Linked DNA regions of Homo sapiens: region 2 is linked to region 1. The links are contacts of gene promoters, found by promoter capture Hi-C in blood cells and fetal thymus (Javierre and others, 2016). All regions are on one chromosome and are shown on one strand. Each heading gives the region's core, a stretch centred on a gene start or on the middle of the fragment in contact. The rest is flanking DNA. Distances are from core to core; before and after follow the strand shown. Region 1 holds the start of FPR1 (formyl peptide receptor 1). Region 2 has its middle 21 kb from the start of MIR99B.

Region 1 (4,297 bases), core at 884-3,383:
TCCGCCTCCCAGGTTCAAGCAATTCTCCTGTCTCAGCCTCCTGAGTAGCTGGGATTTCAGGTGCACGCCGCCGTGCCTGGCTAATTTTTCTTTTTAATTGTATTTTAGTAGACATGGGGTTTCACCATGTTGCCCAGGCTGGTCTCAAACTCTTGAGCTCAGGCAGTCCACCTGCCTCAGCCTCCCAAAGTGCTAGGATTACAGGTGTGAGCCACTGCGCCCGGCCTGGTCTTCTCTTCTAATGCTTGCAGCAGCCTTCCTCAAAATTGTTACTATGAGGGTCACTGTCTTTATGGTACCCATTTTGCAGACGAGGAAAGTGCGACTTAGAGCATTTCAGTTAATTCCTTAAAGTCACCCAACAGCCCAGGCTGTCGAATTCCAGCAAAAGTCTCTTTCTGCCTCTGCCCTGCCACGCTACTGGCACAGAAGAGCTGTCTAATGCACTAGTCACTCACCACATGTGGTTTTCAAGCACTTGAATTGTGGCTAGTCCAACTGGAGACAGGCTGTAGGAGTAAAATACCCATCAGATTTCAAAGACTTAGTATGAAAAAAATATTGTGACCATCTCATTAATAGTTTTTATATTGACTACATGTTAAAATGATAATAATTTGGCTATTTAAGTTTAGGTTAGATATTTTATTAAAATTAAGTTCGCATGTTTCTCTTCACCTTTTTAAAGTGCCTACTTGACACTTTGAAATTACATATGTGTCTCACATTTCTAATGAACTTTGATACTCTACAATCTCAGAAACAACTCAGAGATGTCTCCCTCCCCTACCACCCATCCAACCACCAAAATACCCTGAGGACTCTTTGTCCTCAAGAATCTCTAAGGCAACCAGTTCAGAAGATTGTTGCAATGAATGATGAGGATTCTGCAATAATGAGCTGGAACATACCAGAGAGGAAAACCTGTGCAATTTTGTCCAATTATGGTTCAAGGGAAAAATCCTGTGATTTGCAATGAACACAGGCCTTGGTGGCTGCCATCGATGAAGGACTTTATGCTTGATAATCATTGTACCACATCCTCAACTTTCTTGCCTCTGATCTCAACAAACTCAGCATTGATTATACATCATCATCCCTGTGTGACGGAAGAGGAAACTAGGAGCTTGATGAGAAATGACAGCCAATGTCTGCAGATTCATGAGAGGGCAGGGCTGTATTCCGCTACTGGGTCCTATGCACCATGCAGAACCAGTGTCTTCACGTGGAGACTCATCACTGATCCGAAAGGTGACTGCTTCTGTATTACACTCATTTCCCCATGACCCATCATAAAGTCGTTAGGGCTCTTTTGCTTTCTCCTGAAAGCTTCAAACCAAACATCCTTTCCCATCCCGACTCAAGCCCTCAAGCTGATGCCCTTGCCTCTTGCTCCACCAGATTCTCCTCCTGCTGGCTCCTGCATCACTGTTCTCTGCCCTCATCTCTGTAACCAGAAAACAAGTGTTTCCATCCAAGAATTACCCTCTACTGGTCCCATAAAACTCATTCCCCCATTTACTCAAGAACTTCCCTCCTTCACTTATCCCTTCTCTCTCCTGCAGCCTCATAGTGTCTCTATATTCCATCATTCCCATCAGGACCCCAATAAAGTCTAGAGCCTATTTGTTTATTTATTTATTTACTTATTTATTTGAGATGGAGTCTCACTCTGTCACCTAGGCTGGAGTACAGTGGTGCAATCTGAGCTCACTGCAACCTCCACCTCCCAGATTCAAGCAATTCTCCTGCCTCAGCCTCCCAAGTAGCTTGAATTACAGACGCCCACCACCACGCCTGGCTAATTTTTGTATTTTTAATAGAAGTGAGGTTTCAACATGTTGGCCAGGCTGGTCTCGAACTCCTGACCTCAAGTTATCCACCTGCCTTGGCCTCCCAAAGTGCTGGGATTACAAGCATGAGTCACCGTGCCCGGCCTGTTTAGAACCTCTTTAAAAAAATTATTCTTCAACTCCACATCCTTCTTCAAACAAAGAGTCTATTGTGTTCACCAGTGTATTAAGTGTGTCTATGTCAAGCTACCCAGTCCCCCAGAATATGTTTCTTACCTGGACTGTTCACCAGCTGTGGTCTTGCTCTGGGTAGTTCTAGGTCTGGGTCTCCTGGGGAGAGTGACTCAGGCTCTAATGATTGCAGCAAAACATACACCAAGGAACAGGAGGAGGGGTAAAGGAACTAAAACCAGCTGGGTAGCAGGAAATAGGAAGTCTGAGCTTCTTCTGATTTTTGATGGCCCCAAGAATACACCAATATACTGTCTGCTTTAATGGCATTAGGACAGTGGGCTGGGCCTGTTTAGAAACTCATGTACCTGACTGTATTTCTCAGCCTCAGTCTCTGTGGGATGCAGAGGTTCAGTGCTCTCAACAACAAGGGCCAAGAAATCCAAGTGTCCGGGCCCCTGCTCCCTCCAAGGGTCAAGGTAAAGAAAGCAGCAAGCACTGTGGTGAGAAGAATCAGAGGGAGGCAATGAAAGGAAGAGAAGAAGTCATGAGGGATGGAGACCAGAAACACAGAGAGAGGTAAGGGAGTGGGGGAAGTTGAGACAGTTGGCAGGACAGCGCGTCCACACCCATGCACACCACCAAGATTAACCCCATAATCCTCTGATCTTGTGGAAGCTCATTTGTAGTCTTCTAGCCCAAAGAAATAACCGTTTTTCTGAAATGTTAAGCATCCTTCCAAGGGTATCAGAGTGATATGGAGAAATATGGTAAGACAGTTACAGAATCAGAGATAACGACACTGATTCTAAAAGCATTATTACCAAGGCATTGTTGCATTAAGACTGTTTTTTCTTTTCTTTTAGAGACAGTATCCTGCTACGTTGCCCAGGCATGTCTCAGACCCCTGGGTTTAGTGATCCTCCTGCCTCAGCCTCCCCAAATGCTGGGATTACAGGCATGAGCCGGGCTGTTTTTAATTCTAAGTAATTTATAATTTACAATTACACCTAACAATGGCTTCAACAAGGGGTGTCCAATCTTTTGCCTTCCCTGGGCCACACTGGAAGAAGAAGAATTGTCTTGGGCCACACATAAAATACACTAACACTAACGATACCTGATGAGCTAAAAAAAAAAAAAAAAAAAAAAATCCCCCAAAAATCTGATAATGTTTTAAGAAAGTTTATGAATTTGTGTTGGGCTGCATTCAAAGCCATCTTAGGCCATGGGCTGGACAAGCTTAGCTTAGAACCAAGACGAAATTTATGGTTTACTTTACAAGAATTTTGCAAGAGGGTAATACTAGGTTAGGTTATATCTGGAAAATATCATCAAGAACTACATTCATTTTAATCTTTTCTCTTTTTTATCCCTAATATGGTGACTTTTTTTCCTGGGGATTGCCACTTCATGGCTCCAAGAAAGCTACCACAGCTCCTGACTTCACATTACAGCAGGGGTCCCCAACCTCCAGGCCATAGACCAATACACAGACCGATACCGGTCTGTGGCCTGTTAGGAAGTGGGCTGCACAGCAGGTGACTGGCAGGTGAGCAAGAGAAGCTTCATCTGTATTTATAGCCACTCCCCATTGCTGGCATTACTGCCTGAGCTCTGCCTCCTGTCAGATTAGTGGCGGCATTAGATTCTCATAACAGTGTGAACCCTACTGTGAACTGTGCATGCCAGGGATCTGGGTTGTGTGCTCCTTATGAGAATCTAATGCCTGATGATCTGTCACTGTCTCCCATCACTCCCAGATGGGACTGTCTAGTTGCGGGAAAGCAAGCTCAGGGCTCCCACGGATTCTACATCATTGTGAGTTGTATAATTATTTCATTGTGTATTACAATGTAATAATAATAATAGAAATAAAGTCTACAATAAATGCAATGTGCTTAAATCATCCTGAAACCATCTACCCCGCCACCCCATGGAGAAATTGTTTTTTATGAAACTGGTCCCTGGTGCCAAAAATGTTGGGGACTGCTACACTCCAGCATCCCACACCAGGAGGATGGGGATGAGATGGAGAATCACTGAAGATCTTTAATCAGAAGGGTGATATGTTCATTTGTACTTTATAAACATTTGTGTTTGTATTTTATAAACATTTTCTTGGGATCATAACAACAGATGCATTTTAGAAGATTCCCAAGGTATGAAGGGTAACAAATGAAGACGTGCCTAGGAGTCACATGGAAGCCAACACTTTGTAAGGGGATTAAAATAAAGGGAATGGCAGAGGACATCATTATGCACAGAGGAGAAGGGCCCAAATGTCAAGAGAAAACAAGAGACAAGGGACTCCACAGAGAGTAATTGCCAGA
Region 2 (4,860 bases), core at 1,557-4,056, 79 kb before region 1:
AGAAATGAAACATACACAATATTTCAGAATCCCCTGCATGTGGCTTCCCCAGTAATAATCCATGCCTCCCTCCAGAAGTCAGTAACATTCTAACTTTTTGATAATTTTGCGCTCACTTTTCTTTTTATTGCTATTAGTTATGTAGTTTTCTTTTTCTTTTCTTTTTTTTTTTTTGAGATGGAGTTTCACTTTTGTTGCCCAGGCTGGAGTGCAATAGTGCGATCTTGGCTCACCGCAATCTCCGCCTCTTGGGTTCAAATGATTCTCCTGCCTCAGCCTCCTGAGTAGCTGGGATTACAGGCATGCACCACCATGACCAGCTAATTTTGTATTTTTAGTAGAGAAGGGGTTTCTCCATGTTGGTCAGGCTGGTCTCCAACTCCTGACCTCAGGTGATCTGCCTGCCTTGTGCCTCCCAAAGTTCTGGGATTACAGGCATGAGCCACTGTGCCCAGCATAATAGTTTTCTTTTAGCTATTTTTAAGATTACATATTTACATGTATGGAACAAGATTCCATGTGTTCATTTGATTTTGCAAATTTTTATAATATCACATTGATGACAATATTCTATGTATTCATATAGCTGTATTTCATTTTTTCATTGCTGAATAGTATTCCATTATGTGGATATACCACACTTCATCGATCCACTTGCCTTGTAAGTGGGAGCTAAATGATGAGAACACATAGAGGGGAACAACACACACTGGGGCCTACTGGAGGGTGGAGGGTGGGAGGAGGGAGAGGATCAGGAAACATAACTAACGAATACTAGGTTTAATACTTGGGTGATGAAGTAATCTGTATAACAAACCACCAGGACACAAGTTTGCCTATGCAACAAACCTGCACATATACCCCAAACTTAAAATAAAAGTTTTAAAAAAGTGTATTCAAGAGTTGAGATTTAGCACAATTAATAGCTTTTACTGTTTCATCAAGTGCAATCTTAAATGAAGCTGGAATTTTCCTTAACAGTGAGTGTGAAGTGATAAAGAATACAACTTTCTAGCACAATTTAGTGCTATTACCTTGCTTCCGGCTAAGGTTACAGCCCTTTTATGTACCATTGCTTTTGCACCAGCAATGTAATGTCAACACAGAGAAAAACGCAAATAACATCTGTGTATTATTACTAAAATAGTTTTGACCTTGAAGATGCCCCCTGAAAGAATCTTGGTATCTCCTAGTAGAACCCTGTCTCTAGAGGATGCATCTTAGAGGAACTTCTGTATATATGTCAGTATGCCTGTGTACAGATGCTCCTTAACTTATGGTGGAGTTTCATCCTGATAAATCTGTCATAAATTGAAAATATAGTAAGTCAGAAGTAATTTTCTACTTAATATTTTCCATGTATGATGGGATTATACTGAATGTGTACTCAGTATACTGAGTACTGAATGTGTATGGCTTTTGCACTATCGTAAAGATGAAAAATTATAACTTGAATCATCATAAGTCAGGGATGGTCTGTATGTAAGTGTGTGTATATATCTCCTACTTCAGTAGATAATGCTAAAAAATTTTCCCAAACAATTGCATGAATTTACACTCCCAAAAGTGTACAATATGAGAGTTACCATTGCCCCACATCCTTGCCAACCCTTGGTACTTTCCATTTTTAGCAATCTGATGAGTATGTAATGGTATCCACTATGACACTGATTGGTTTCTACCTCTAAAGAGGTCGAGGACCTTTTCTTATACAATTGGAGTTCATTGGATTTTCTTCTTGTAAAGTCACTTTTGAAGTGATTGGCCAATTTTGCTATTGGATTGCCTGATTTTTTTTTCTAATTGGATTTGTATATTCCTCAGTTGATGAGAATTGTTATGGATAAAGGTAGAATTTCATCAGACTCATTTCCACCTTCCATGGGATGGTCATATTATGTTTTTTTCTTGTATTTGAGCTTGTGATAAATACACTAAATGAGTTTCTAATGTTAAACCACCCTTGCATTCCTGACATAAACACATCTTGGCTATGATGCATTATCATATTTATATCTAGCTCTATTTAATTTGCAAACTCTGGCTTAATATTTGTGCCACTATATGCCTAATTAAGATTTGCCTATACTTTTATTTTTTTATATTGTTGAGTTTGGGTATTAATTTTATAATTAGCCACAGAAAATGAGCAAGAGTTTGAATAGGAATAGAGTAATTTCTTCCTTAAGTTTTGGTACAATTTGCTGGTATACTTAAAGTTTAGCCATCTTGACCTAAAGTTTGCTTGGTGAGATGATTTTTACTACTGATTCTTCCGAATAGTTTTAGAACTATTCAGGTTTTCTACTTGTTTTCTGAGGCTATTATACTAAATTACATATTTTTATTAATTTATCCATTAATCTAAATGTCAAAGTATGTGAAATTGTTCAAAATATTATCGTATATTCTCAATGTCTGCAACATCAGTGGTTATGTCCTTTATTTCTGACATTAGTTACATGTGCCTTCTCTCTTTTCATTGTATTTAGACTCCCCAGAGGTTTATCAATTTTATTACTTTTTCACCAAACAAGTTAGGGCTTTGTTGATTCTGTTGTATGCATTTTAAAACATGTATTATTTAGTACTTATTTTATTATTTTCTTATGTCTACTTTCTTGAGTTTTTTTATCTCTTGAGAAGAAAGATCGAATTCAGTTTATCTTATTTCAATTCCAGTAATATGATTTTAAGCTATTCATATCTGTCTTAGTCCATTTAGTCTTGCTAAAAAAGCAATACCTGATGCTGGGTAATTTATACAGAAAAGAGGTGTATTTGGCTCACAGTTCTGCAGGCTGTATAGAAAGCATGGAACCAGCATCTGCTTCTGGTGAGGCCTCAGGCCGCTTCTACTCATGGCAGAAGGTAAAGGGGAGCCACCACGTGCAAAGATCACATGAGGAGAGAGAAAGCAAGAGATAGGGACAGTGCAGGTGGCAGGTTCTTTTTAACAACCGCTCTTGTAAGAATTAATAGAGCAAGAACTCACCCATTACCAAGAGGACAGTACCAAGCCATTCATGAGGCACCCACTCCCATAACCCAAACATCTCCCATTAGGTTCCATCTCTAATACTGGATAAAATTTCTTAATTTTCTTTTTTTTTTTTTTTTTTTTATTATACTCTAAGTTTTAGGGAACATGTGCACATTGTGCAGGTTAGTTACATATGTATACATGTGCCATGCTGGTGCGCTGCACCCACTAATGTGTCATCTAGCATTAGGTATATCTCCCAATGCTATCCCTCCCCCCTCCCCCGACCCCACCACAGTCCCCAGAGTGTGATATTCCCCTTCCTGTGTCCATGTGATCTCATTGTTCAATTCCCACCTATGAGTGAGAATATGCGGTGTTTGGTTTTTTGTTCTTGCGATAGTTTACTGAGAATGATGGTTTCCAATTTCATCCATGTCCCTACAAAGGATATGAACTCATCATTTTTTATGGCTGCACAGTATTCCATGGTGTATATGTGCCACATTTTCTTAATCCAGTCTATCATTGTTGGACATTTGGGTTGGTTCCAAGTCTTTGCTATTGTGAATAGTGCCGCAATAAACATACGTGTGCATGTGTCTTTATAGCAGCATGATTTATACTCATTTGGGTATATACCCAGTAATGGGATGGCTGGGTCAAATGGTATTTCTAGTTCTAGATCCCTGAGGAATCACCACACTGACTTCCACAATGGTTGAACTAGTTTACAGTCCCACCAACAGTGTAAAAGTGTTCCTATTTCTCCGCATCCTCTCCAGCACCTGTTGTTTCCTGACTTTTTAATGATTGCCATTCTAACTGGTGTGAGATGATATCTCATAGTGGTTTTGATTTGCATTTCTCTGATGGCCAGTGATGATGAGCATTTCTTCATGTGTTTTTTGGCTGCATAAATGTCTTCTTTTGAGAAGTGTCTGTTCATGTCCTTCGCCCACTTTTTGATGGGGTTGTTTGTTTTTTTCTTGTAAATTTGTTTGAGTTCATTGTAGATTCTGGATATTAGCCCTTTGTCAGATGAGTAGGTTGCGAAAATTTTCTCCCATGTTGTAGGTTGCCTGTTCACTCTGATGGTAGTTTCTTTTGCTGTGCAGAAGCTCTTTAGTTTAATTAGATCCCATTTGTCAATTTTGTCTTTTGTTGCCATTGCTTTTGGTGTTTTGGACATGAAGTCCTTGCCCACGCCTATGTCCTGAGATTCAATGCCATCCCCATCAAGCTACCAATGACTTTCTTCACAGAATTGGAAAAAACTACTTTAAAGTTCATATGGAACCAAAAAAGAGCCCGCATTGCCAAGTCAATCCTAAGCCAAAAGAACAAAGCTGGAGGCATCACACTACCTGACTTCAAACTATACTACAAGGCTACAGTAACCAAAACAGCATGGTACTGGTACCAAAACAGAGATATAGATCAATGGAACAGAACAGAGCCCTCAGAAATAATGCCGCATATCTACAACTATCTGATCTTTGACAAACCTGAGAAAAACAAGCAATGGGGAAAGGATTCCCTATTTAATAAATGGTGCTGGGAAAACTGGCTAGCCATATGTAGAAAGCTGAAACTGGATCCCTTCCTTACACCTTATACAAAAATCAATTCAAGATGGATTAAAGATTTAAACGTTAAACCTAAAACCATAAAAACCCTAGAAGAAAACCTAGGCATAATTTTCAACCTTTCAAGAGTTCAATAATATTTTTGTTTCAGATCTCCATCTTAACAACAAAGTGATCAGAAAATATACTTTTTGTGATATAAATCCCTTAAACTGTGTTGAGATTTTCTCAATGGCTCAGTCTCTGATCAAGTTGTACAAATATTCTGTGTGTGCTTTAATAATGCAT

What was found. The method cuts DNA at HindIII sites, captures the fragments that hold promoters and counts their contacts. A CHiCAGO score of 5 or more calls a contact.
Region 2: a contact is called between a fragment that was not itself captured here and the fragment with the promoter of FPR1 in region 1, in 1 of 17 cell types (monocytes). The highest score is 5.6, in monocytes.

What each region holds. Positions count from the first base shown.
Region 1 is chr19:51,749,745-51,754,041 of GRCh38, forward strand. FPR1 (formyl peptide receptor 1) reads right to left here and starts at 2,134. Exons shown (of 2, transcript NM_002029.4): 1 at 2,070-2,134. The HindIII fragment of the contact is 1,877 bases long and covers 1,328-3,204 here.
Region 2 is chr19:51,669,581-51,674,440 of GRCh38, forward strand. No RefSeq gene overlaps it. Among named protein-coding and RNA genes, the nearest start is that of MIR99B, 21 kb to the right of the region's middle. The HindIII fragment of the contact is 5,735 bases long and covers 1-4,860 here.